Regions from separate parts of the Homo sapiens genome. Here region 1 is linked to region 2. Evidence: promoter capture Hi-C in human tissues and cell types (Jung and others, 2019). All regions are on one chromosome and are shown on one strand. Each heading gives the region's core, a stretch centred on a gene start or on the middle of the fragment in contact. The rest is flanking DNA. Distances are from core to core; before and after follow the strand shown. Region 1 has its middle 23 kb from the start of CYP2A13. Region 2 holds the start of CYP2A7 (cytochrome P450 family 2 subfamily A member 7).

Region 1 (4,446 bases), core at 1,291-3,790, 180 kb before region 2:
TTTCACTATACAGACACAAATAGACATAAACGATCTCAATAGCACAGATAACGGTAAACTCTAGTAAAATAATTAGGATGTGATCAGCCTTGAGTACTTATTACCTTCTTTTAAAAGTATAATATATTCCGTTTTTGTTTGCGTAATTTAATTAATAATGACTATTTCATAATAAGCTCACATCATTACCGAACATTTAATAATCAGCTCTTCTGCCAGGTTCACAGTGCCCTGCCCCTCACCTGCATGTTCTGCGTCGAGCCCTGATGAAGCCCCTGTCCTGGGAAGAAGGAAACTTCTTAAGGACAATGCCTAAGGACAAAATTCAGCACACGTACACAGGTGTGGTCCTACGAGTTATTACAGCCTTTTTTTTTTTTTGAGACAGGGTCTGGCTCTGTTGCCCAGGCTGAAGTGCAGTGGCGCAATCTTGGCTCACTGCAACTTCTGTCTCCTAGATTCAAGTGATTCTCCTGCCTCAGCCTCCTGAGTAGCTGGGATTACAGGCGCCCACCACCATGCCAAGCTAGTTTTTTTTTTTAATTCTTTATTTTTAGTAGAGATGGGATGTCATCATGTTGGCCAGGATGGTCTCAAACTCCTGACCTCAAGCAATCCACTCATCTCAGCCTCCCAAAGTGCTGGGATTACAGGTGTGAGCCAACACACCTGGACTATTAGAGCATCTTTTGATAGAGGTTGGTATTTTAGTTTGTTTAGTGTTGTTATTACCAAATATCTGTGGCTGAGTAATTTATAATAAAAAGAGATTTATTTGGCTCACAGTCCTGCCTGCTGTACAAGAAGCATGGCACCAGCATCTGCTTCTGGTGAGGGCTTCAGGCTGCTTCTACTCATAGCAGAAGGCAAAGTAGAGCCAGCATGTGCAGGGATCACATAGTGAGAGAAGAAGCAAGAGACAGAGGGTATGGCCAAATTCTTTTAAACAACCAGCTCTCATGGTAACTAATAGAGCAAGAACCCATTCATTACCATGAGGAGGACATCAGGTAACTCCTGGATCATGAACCAAACACTTCCCATTAATTTCCACCTCCAACATTGGGGATCAAATTTCAATGTGAGGTTTGCAGGGACAAACATCCAAACGAGAGCAGTTGGTAAATGGGAAATTCAACCACTTCTCCAGGACCACTCTTACCAATAGTCCCATAATTCAGCAACTACAGAGGCCTCTAGGACCCTACTCCATCTTCAGACAATGTTTGTGCTGCCCTGGTTGTTAAATATGTTTATTATCATCATCTGTAATACTCAAATCCATACATACATCCTCCTTACAAGGAATCTTGCAGTATCTCACAACTGATGATTTATACTCCATGGGTATACATTGGGTCAAATTATGCATTTTATACCTTTTGAGAAACACTGAACTAATAATATTTCTGAGACCTCTTCAAGCTCTGACATGCTGTGTTTAGACTTGAACCCTAAGCTTGAGTTTAAGAGTGAAAGGAGATGCAGAAAAGAAGTTGGGGGCAGGTATGAGTACCAGGAAGACTTCCCCATGGATGTGGGAGAGTATGGCATTAAATTACATTGACACACAGAAACTGTGGGAAATAACAAATCGTTGTTGTCTTAAGCCTCTAAGTGTTGAGCTGTTTTGTTATGTAGTATTAGATAACTAATACACAGGTATTTTCTAGTTATGATAGAAAATAGCTAATTTTCCATTAAAGGGAGAAATACCAAGTTCCATCTTAATGAATTTAAGTTCTTAAAAAGGAGAGTCAATTAAAGAAACATTAAATTCATATATGGGTGGTACTCAGACACAACAATAAAAAAGAAGGCAACAAGCACTTATCTTGGTTCAATGATTTTTCAAGCATTTTTCACAGAAGCCAAATTTCCTAAGATATAGGTTAACTGCTATAACAAAGACCCAAAACAGTGGTTTAAAGGGGCTTACATAAGATGGAAATTTAATTTTCTTTCTTTCTTTATTTTTTGAAGATGGAGTCTCGTTCTGTCACCCAGGCTGGAATGCAGTGGCACCTTCTGGGCTCACTGCAACCTCGGCCTCCCGGGTTCATGCGATTCCCCTGCCTCAGCTTCCCGAGTAGTTGGGATTACAGGTGTGTGCCACCACGCCCGGCTAATTTTTGCATTTTTAGTAGAGATGGGGTTTCACCATGTTGGCCAGCCTGGTCTTGAACTCCTGACCTCCAGTGATCCACCTGCCTTGGCCTCCCAAAGTGCTGGGATTACAGGTATGAGCCACCGCGCCCTGTGGAAATTTAATTTTCTTACACTTAATGGCTCTGCATAAGCAACCCTGAGCTCATCAGGCAGTTCACTGATATCAAAGACCCAGGCTCCTTCCATGTTGCTGCTGCTCCTTCCTAAGTTGTTGCTCTTGCTATCCCAGTTAGCCAGAAAGAGGAAATATTCTGGAAGGAAACCTTGCCCCTCCCTCTAAAAGCATAAACTGAAAGTTGCAGGCATCACTTTCACTCACTTCTCATTGGTCAGAACTTGGCTACACGGCCATACGCAGCTGCAAGGGAGCTTGGGAAATGTAGTTTTTAACTCTAGATAATCATGTAGCTGGATAGAATTCTATTACTACGGAAGACAGGGAAAACAAATATTGGGAGACATCTAGGTGCCTCTGAAATATGAACCTTTTCTCAAATACAGTCATATATGAATTTAATATATCAAACCAGATGACAATGAGAGCTATACCTCCAAGCACCTGAAACATCTGAATGCCTTTCCCCTCTGTATGAAAGGTATTACACAGAGTTTAAAAAAAAAAGTTTATCCAGCAGCTTCAGGTTATAAGAATATTTGTTTTAGGGTGACCTGAATAATCTCTGACTATTTAACATGCCCTTCCTTGCAAGCTGGTTGTTTGGATTAGAGGATACCCTGCTTGTCAAGCACACAGCTCCATCCATGCCTGGCACAAAGTGACAAATTAAAAAAATTTGGTTGGGCGCAGTGGCTCATGCCTGTAATCCCAGCACTTGGGGAGGCCAGGCAGGTGGATCACTTGAGGTCAGGAGTTCAAGACCAGCCTGGCCTACCTGGCAAAACCCCATCTCTACTAAAAATACAAAAATTAGCCAGGCGTGGTGGTGGGTGCCTGTAATCCCAGCTACTTGGGAGGCTAAGGCAGGAGAATCGCTTGCACCTGGAAGGCGGAGGTTGCAGTGAGCCAAGATCACACCACTGAACTCCAGCTGAACTTTAGTTCAAGTTCCTCCATTCCTGGCTTCCTGTCTGGAGGTGGGATGGTGAAGGGAGCTGTTCTAAGAGTACTTGCTCTCTCCCTTCCTGTCTGAATAGGAAAACCAGACTCACAACCAACCACCATCACCACACACATGCCACCACCACAAGATGGTTAAGAGGTTAGTCCTGAATGGGTGTTAAGTGCTGGGGGGTGAGGATCAGAATGGGATGGGAAGGTGAAAGCTAAGGGAGTCAAAGGAGATGGGCTGAGCTGAGTCTCTACTCCAAGAAAGACATTCTAGCAGCAGATCCAAGAGACAAAAGGTGGCACTGTGTGTGAGTCACTCAGCTTTCCCAGAATTTCCACCACTTCTGGACACAGGATGCCTCAGCTCAGCCAGCCAAACCCCATTCCCCAAACCTACAGATACCTTGAGGGATTCGGTTTCCAAGTCTGAGAATACAGTCGCATGAAAAGGACATTGAATTTTGTTAAATAGTACATGAGGGTAGGATATAATATCCAGGAAGTTCATTTCAGGACAATAAGGCTTTGAAAATATTTGGTGCAGAAAAGGTAGTTAATCACTTTTTAGATTATTAAGACATTCCCCTCCAGAGACTGGGGTTCAGAGGTGATCTCTACACCTTAGACTTTCAAAACACACACACACACACACACACACACACACACTGACACACACTACAGCAAAGTTCTTTTTTTTCTTTTTTTAAATTTGATACAGCAAATTTCTGATACACCAACATGGGTAATCTTTGATTATTGTTATTTAACATTAACTTGAGTAGAAAACAAGAACTCTTTGAACAAAACCCTTTCAATTGATTTATTTCTCTTGTTTTCTAAATCTTCAGCTTACTTTCCTTATTAACATTCTAGTGTTCCATTATACAGTAGGGTGGCTGGCTGTAGTTAACAATAATACATTGCATATTTCAAAATAGTTAGAAGAGAGGATTTTGAATGTTCTTACCACAAAGAAATGACAATGTCTCAGTAATGGATATAATAATTACCCGAATTTGATTGTTATACATTGCATACATGTATCAAAACATCACACATATGTACAATTATTATGTACATATATATACCACAAATATGTACAATTATTATGTGTCAATTTAAAAAATCTAATAACTGATTAATTAAGGTTATCCTTAATTAAATAATGAACAAAGAGTTTTCCTTGTTGTCTATCAAGACTTTCTAAA
Region 2 (4,588 bases), core at 491-2,990:
GCATACACCTGGGGGCAGTCCCAAAGCCAACACGATGCCTTTCCCTCCCTGGCCATACCTGATGCTGATATCAGAACCCGCCAATGTCATCAGTGTGTCCACTGCTGATGCCAGTCTCAGCACTCACCTCCTGCTAAGGCTGGCCCGCACTTGACTCCCAGGGTGATCTAGGCCAGTCAATGAAGGGGGGCGAGGAGAAAGTTCACATCCCAGCTCCCTCACTTACTCCCTGTGTGACCTCACTCAAGAGGGTTTATGGAGTCTAGATCTGCTCATCTTCAAAATGAGGATGATCACGATGAACCAACCTCACTGTTACAAAGATTCAACCAGATCATACACACCTAGACTTAATCTTCCCATATATGACCATGCTCACCAAAGGGTAACTGTCCTGTTTACTAAGGAAGAATTTCCCTGAAGGAAGGACAGGAGGGCTACTCATCCCTTCTCCACTCACACCCACCCCAGGATCTGCCTCTGTGCCTAACACTGGAGTTTACCCCAATCTCTTCTGCGACTGTTCCCTCTGCCTGCTAATAGTAGTAGCCCCTGACAAAGCAGGAATCGCCCTTAAAGGAGACTTAACTCACCCTCAAATGTGATCTTCTCTTCCCAAACACTCCCTTTCCACTGGCAGGAAAACCAAATCCAGAAAGGGGAACTAAGTACACAGAGCAGGAGAGATGGGAGTTCAGGGCCACTCACACATGTCCCCTGCCCACTGTCTGTTTTCTGTCCTCTGTAGATCTTTATATAAAATGAGAAACATAAACAACAATCATAATATTAATAGGGATGATACAATCAATCTAGTGGGTTTCCCTGAGGATCTGGGTTGGAAACCAGCGGACAACCCTTGGGACACTTGAGATTTTTCCACCATTTGGGGGTTGTTATTACTATTTCTCCAGACCTAGCCAATCCCTCTGCCAACCGCTAACTCCAGGTACTCTTCTCCAGGTGTGGGGAAAGTTCCCCTGAAATATGGCCCTGGTCTTCCACCCCTTTCCCAACCAGAGATGGGCAGTGGAGGTTCCATGGCACCCATCCTGGCCTCACTCTGAGGTTCCAATGAGGATTCTGGGCATCAAGAGATAGCTCTGGGCAAAAGCAAAATCAAGTCAGCCCCTGGGCCCATTGCTGGGCTGCTGGGCTTTCTGGGAGCACCTGCTGGCTTGCTACACACTCCTCCTCCCAGAAACTCCACACCCACAGCCCTGGGTCTTCCTAGCCCCGAGACTTTCAAGTCCATATGCCTGGAGTCCCCCCTCCTGAGACCCTTAACCCTGCATCCTCCGCAACAGAAGACCTCCAGATGCACAGCCACACTTCCATCTCACCCTAATAAAACCCAGACCTTTGGATTCCTCTCCCTTGGAATGCCCAAATCCACAACTTTGGGGTGCATTCTCACTCTCAGACCCCAAATCCAAAGCCCAAGTGCTCCCCTATGCAAATATTCCAAACTCTTCAGTTCTACAGTTTATCGGTTGCCCCCTCCTAAATCCACAGCCCTGCGGCACCCCTCCTGAAGTACCACAGATTTAGTCTGGAGGCCCCCTCTCTGTTCAGCTGCCCTGGGGTCCCCTTATCCTCCCTTGCTGGCTGTGTCCCAAGCTAGGTGGCATTCATGGTGGGGCGTGTAGTTGGGAGGTGAAATAAGGTGATTATGTAATTAGCCAAAGTCCATCCCTCTTTTTCAGGCAGTATAAAGGCAAACCACCCCACCCATCACCATCTGTCATCTCACTACCACCATGCTGGCCTCAGGGCTGCTTCTGGTGGCCTTGCTGGCCTGCCTGACTGTGATGGTCTTGATGTCTGTCTGGCAGCAGAGGAAGAGCAGGGGGAAGCTGCCTCCGGGACCCACCCCACTGCCCTTCATTGGAAACTACCTCCAGCTGAACACAGAGCACATATGTGACTCCATCATGAAGGTGTCCCAAGGCAGGAAGATGGGTGGCACAGGGTGGGGGCTGCCTAGTTGGCTGGGGCTTTGTGGCAGGGGATTGACCAGTGTGGACCAGAGTCTTAGGAAAGGGAGTTTTGGAGTTTCAGCATCCGGGTCCTAGCCAGGAAAGACAGGATCTTGGGATGTCCAGCTCCCTGACTGTGAGAACCTGGGGGTGAAGGATCCCAGTACTTGACATCTCGGTGCTGGGCCCCATTCAGAGTGGGGGCTGCTCCCTCTAACCACTCCCACTCGCCTCCATCAGTTCAGTGAGTGCTATGGCCCCGTGTTCACCATTCACTTGGGGCCCCGGCGGGTCGTGGTGCTGTGTGGACATGATGCCGTCAGGGAGGCTCTGGTGGACCAGGCTGAGGAGTTCAGCGGGCGAGGCGAGCAAGCCACCTTCGACTGGGTCTTCAAAGGCTATGGTGAGGGGGTGCCCAAGATGGGGAAGGTGGCCAGGCGGACACGATGGTCTCAGTGTTGCCAGCCTTCTCCCTGACTCTCCTGCCCACTGGAGGCTATGGCAGAACCCCCGGTCTGGTCTTATCTCCCCATCTCCCTTCACTGTGGCCTCTCCATGTGTATCCCTCACCTGTCTCCAGCGTCCCTGTCGTGATTCCTCCCTGCCTCTCTCTGCCCCACCTCCTTATTCTCTCTCACTGGAGTCTCCTCTTTCCCCTCTCTCTCCATCTCTGAGGACATCCTGGGTTTCTGTTTTCCAGCCCTGGTCCTCTGTCTTCATTTGTCTTTTTGTTGCTCTCAGCTTCTGTGCTTCTCCATGTTTCTCCTCTCTCCACTTCCCTCTCTCACTTTTTCCTCTCCCTTAGGATTTCATGCTATTCTTACTTCCACATCTCCAGCCTCCATCTCCTGGTAACAGTCTCTCTTCCTTCCAGACCCTCTCTGTTTCTGTCTCAGTATTTTTCTCTCTTCTCCAGCTCAGCTTAAGAATGTTTCACCATTTTTATTTCCTCCTCCCAGATCTCCCCATATCTCACTTCCCCTCCCTCCATCCTCTTCCTCCATCTCTCTCTTTCTCTCCCCACTTCCTACCCTTCCTCCATGGAGTATCCCCTTATCCCTCTGTTTCTCTGCGCATCTCTATCTGGCCTTTCTGTTTCTCTTCTGATTCTCTTATTCTTTCTACCCGGTCTCTCTCTCTCTCTCTCTCTCTCTCTCTCTCTCTCTCTCTCTCTCTCTCTCTCTCTCTCTCTCCCTCGTGTTTCTCTGACTGAGTTTGCACCTGTCCTGGGCACTGGCACTGAATCCATCTCTCTCCCACCCCACTACCCCTCTGCTCCACCCTTGGGGAGCCCCTTGGAACTGGTCCGCTCCTGCCACCGCCGCCCCCTGACCTCTCTCCACCCCCGCCTTGACCTCCCCAGGCGTGGCGTTCAGCAACGGGGAGCGCGCCAAGCAGCTCCTGCGCTTTGCCATCGCCACCCTGAGGGACTTCGGGGTGGGCAAGCGAGGCATCGAGGAGCGCATCCAGGAGGAGTCGGGCTTCCTCATCGAGGCCATCCGGAGCACGCACGGTGAGTAAGGTTCCCCGAGTGCGGGGGCAGGAGAAGGAAAACACCCAGGACGAGGAACCCGCGCGCGTTCTGCCTGCGGATGGGGACTAGGTGGGGAAAGGCGCCCGCACTTCCAGCCCTGGAGTCTGGCGCTGGGAATTTGGCTCAACAAGGCCCTGCCTCCTGGAATTCTGATTCTCCTCAGACCTCTGAGTTGACTCTCTCCCCAACCCCCTTCTCCCTCCACACCCGCAGGCGCCAATATCGATCCCACCTTCTTCCTGAGCCGCACAGTCTCCAATGTCATCAGCTCCATTGTCTTTGGGGACCGCTTTGACTATGAGGACAAAGAGTTCCTGTCACTGCTGAGCATGATGCTAGGAATCTTCCAGTTCACGTCAACCTCCACGGGGCAGGTAACTGGCTGCAGCCCGGCCCGTGACGCCCCTACCACAACCTGCCAACTGCTCCCCTACCTGGAGACAGGTGCCCCAAACTCCCACCCCGCTCCAGACAGTGTCCCCTCAAAATCAGCCCCCGATATTGGACAACTGGACAGTTGCACCAGAAGCCTGTCTCCAAGGACACCTGGATAGCTCAACAGATGCTCCCCAAAACAGAGCCTGCTGGTAGGATACATACCCTCAGCTCAGCTCTCTCACCTGGGCACGTGTTCCCATCCCCAACTTACCGTAATTTCTAACAGATGCTCCCTACCCAGTTCTTCTGAATATTTTAACACCTGGACAAATGACTGCGTCAACCCGCCTCCTGCATGCCTGAACACCTGGTGCTGCAAAATCCAGCCCATCATAATCATTTCACATCTACACAAATGTCCCAGATTAGCCCACTGGAATATCTGGCCAAGCGCCCTCTACTTCACCCACTTAAATGCCTGAAAACATGGACAGCTGCCCTAACCAACACCTTAAACACACAAATATCTAGACAGATTGTTCCCTGACACACAAATAAGTGTTCCCCAACCCTTTCCAATCACACACCTTACAGAGGTGCTCCCTGTGCATCGCACTTGGATAGGTAAACACCTCAACAGGTATCCCCTGCACTTCAACATCTTCACCAGCCCCACTTTAATACCTGAACACCTGAA

The links. The method cuts DNA at HindIII sites, captures the fragments that hold promoters and counts their contacts. A contact is called where the count stands out against the background at its distance.
Region 1: a fragment that was not itself captured here is called in contact with the fragment with the promoter of CYP2A7 in region 2 in 1 of the 25 tissues and cell types used here (H1 embryonic stem cells).

What each region holds. Positions count from the first base shown.
Region 1 is chr19:41,063,218-41,067,663 of GRCh38, reverse strand. No RefSeq gene overlaps it. Among named protein-coding and RNA genes, the nearest start is that of CYP2A13, 23 kb to the left of the region's middle. The HindIII fragment of the contact is 5,575 bases long and covers 1-4,446 here.
Region 2 is chr19:40,879,383-40,883,970 of GRCh38, reverse strand. CYP2A7 (cytochrome P450 family 2 subfamily A member 7) reads left to right here and starts at 1,740. Exons shown (of 9, transcript NM_000764.3): 1 at 1,740-1,940; 2 at 2,220-2,382; 3 at 3,343-3,492; 4 at 3,727-3,887. The coding sequence starts at 1,761. The HindIII fragment of the contact is 10,061 bases long and covers 1-4,588 here.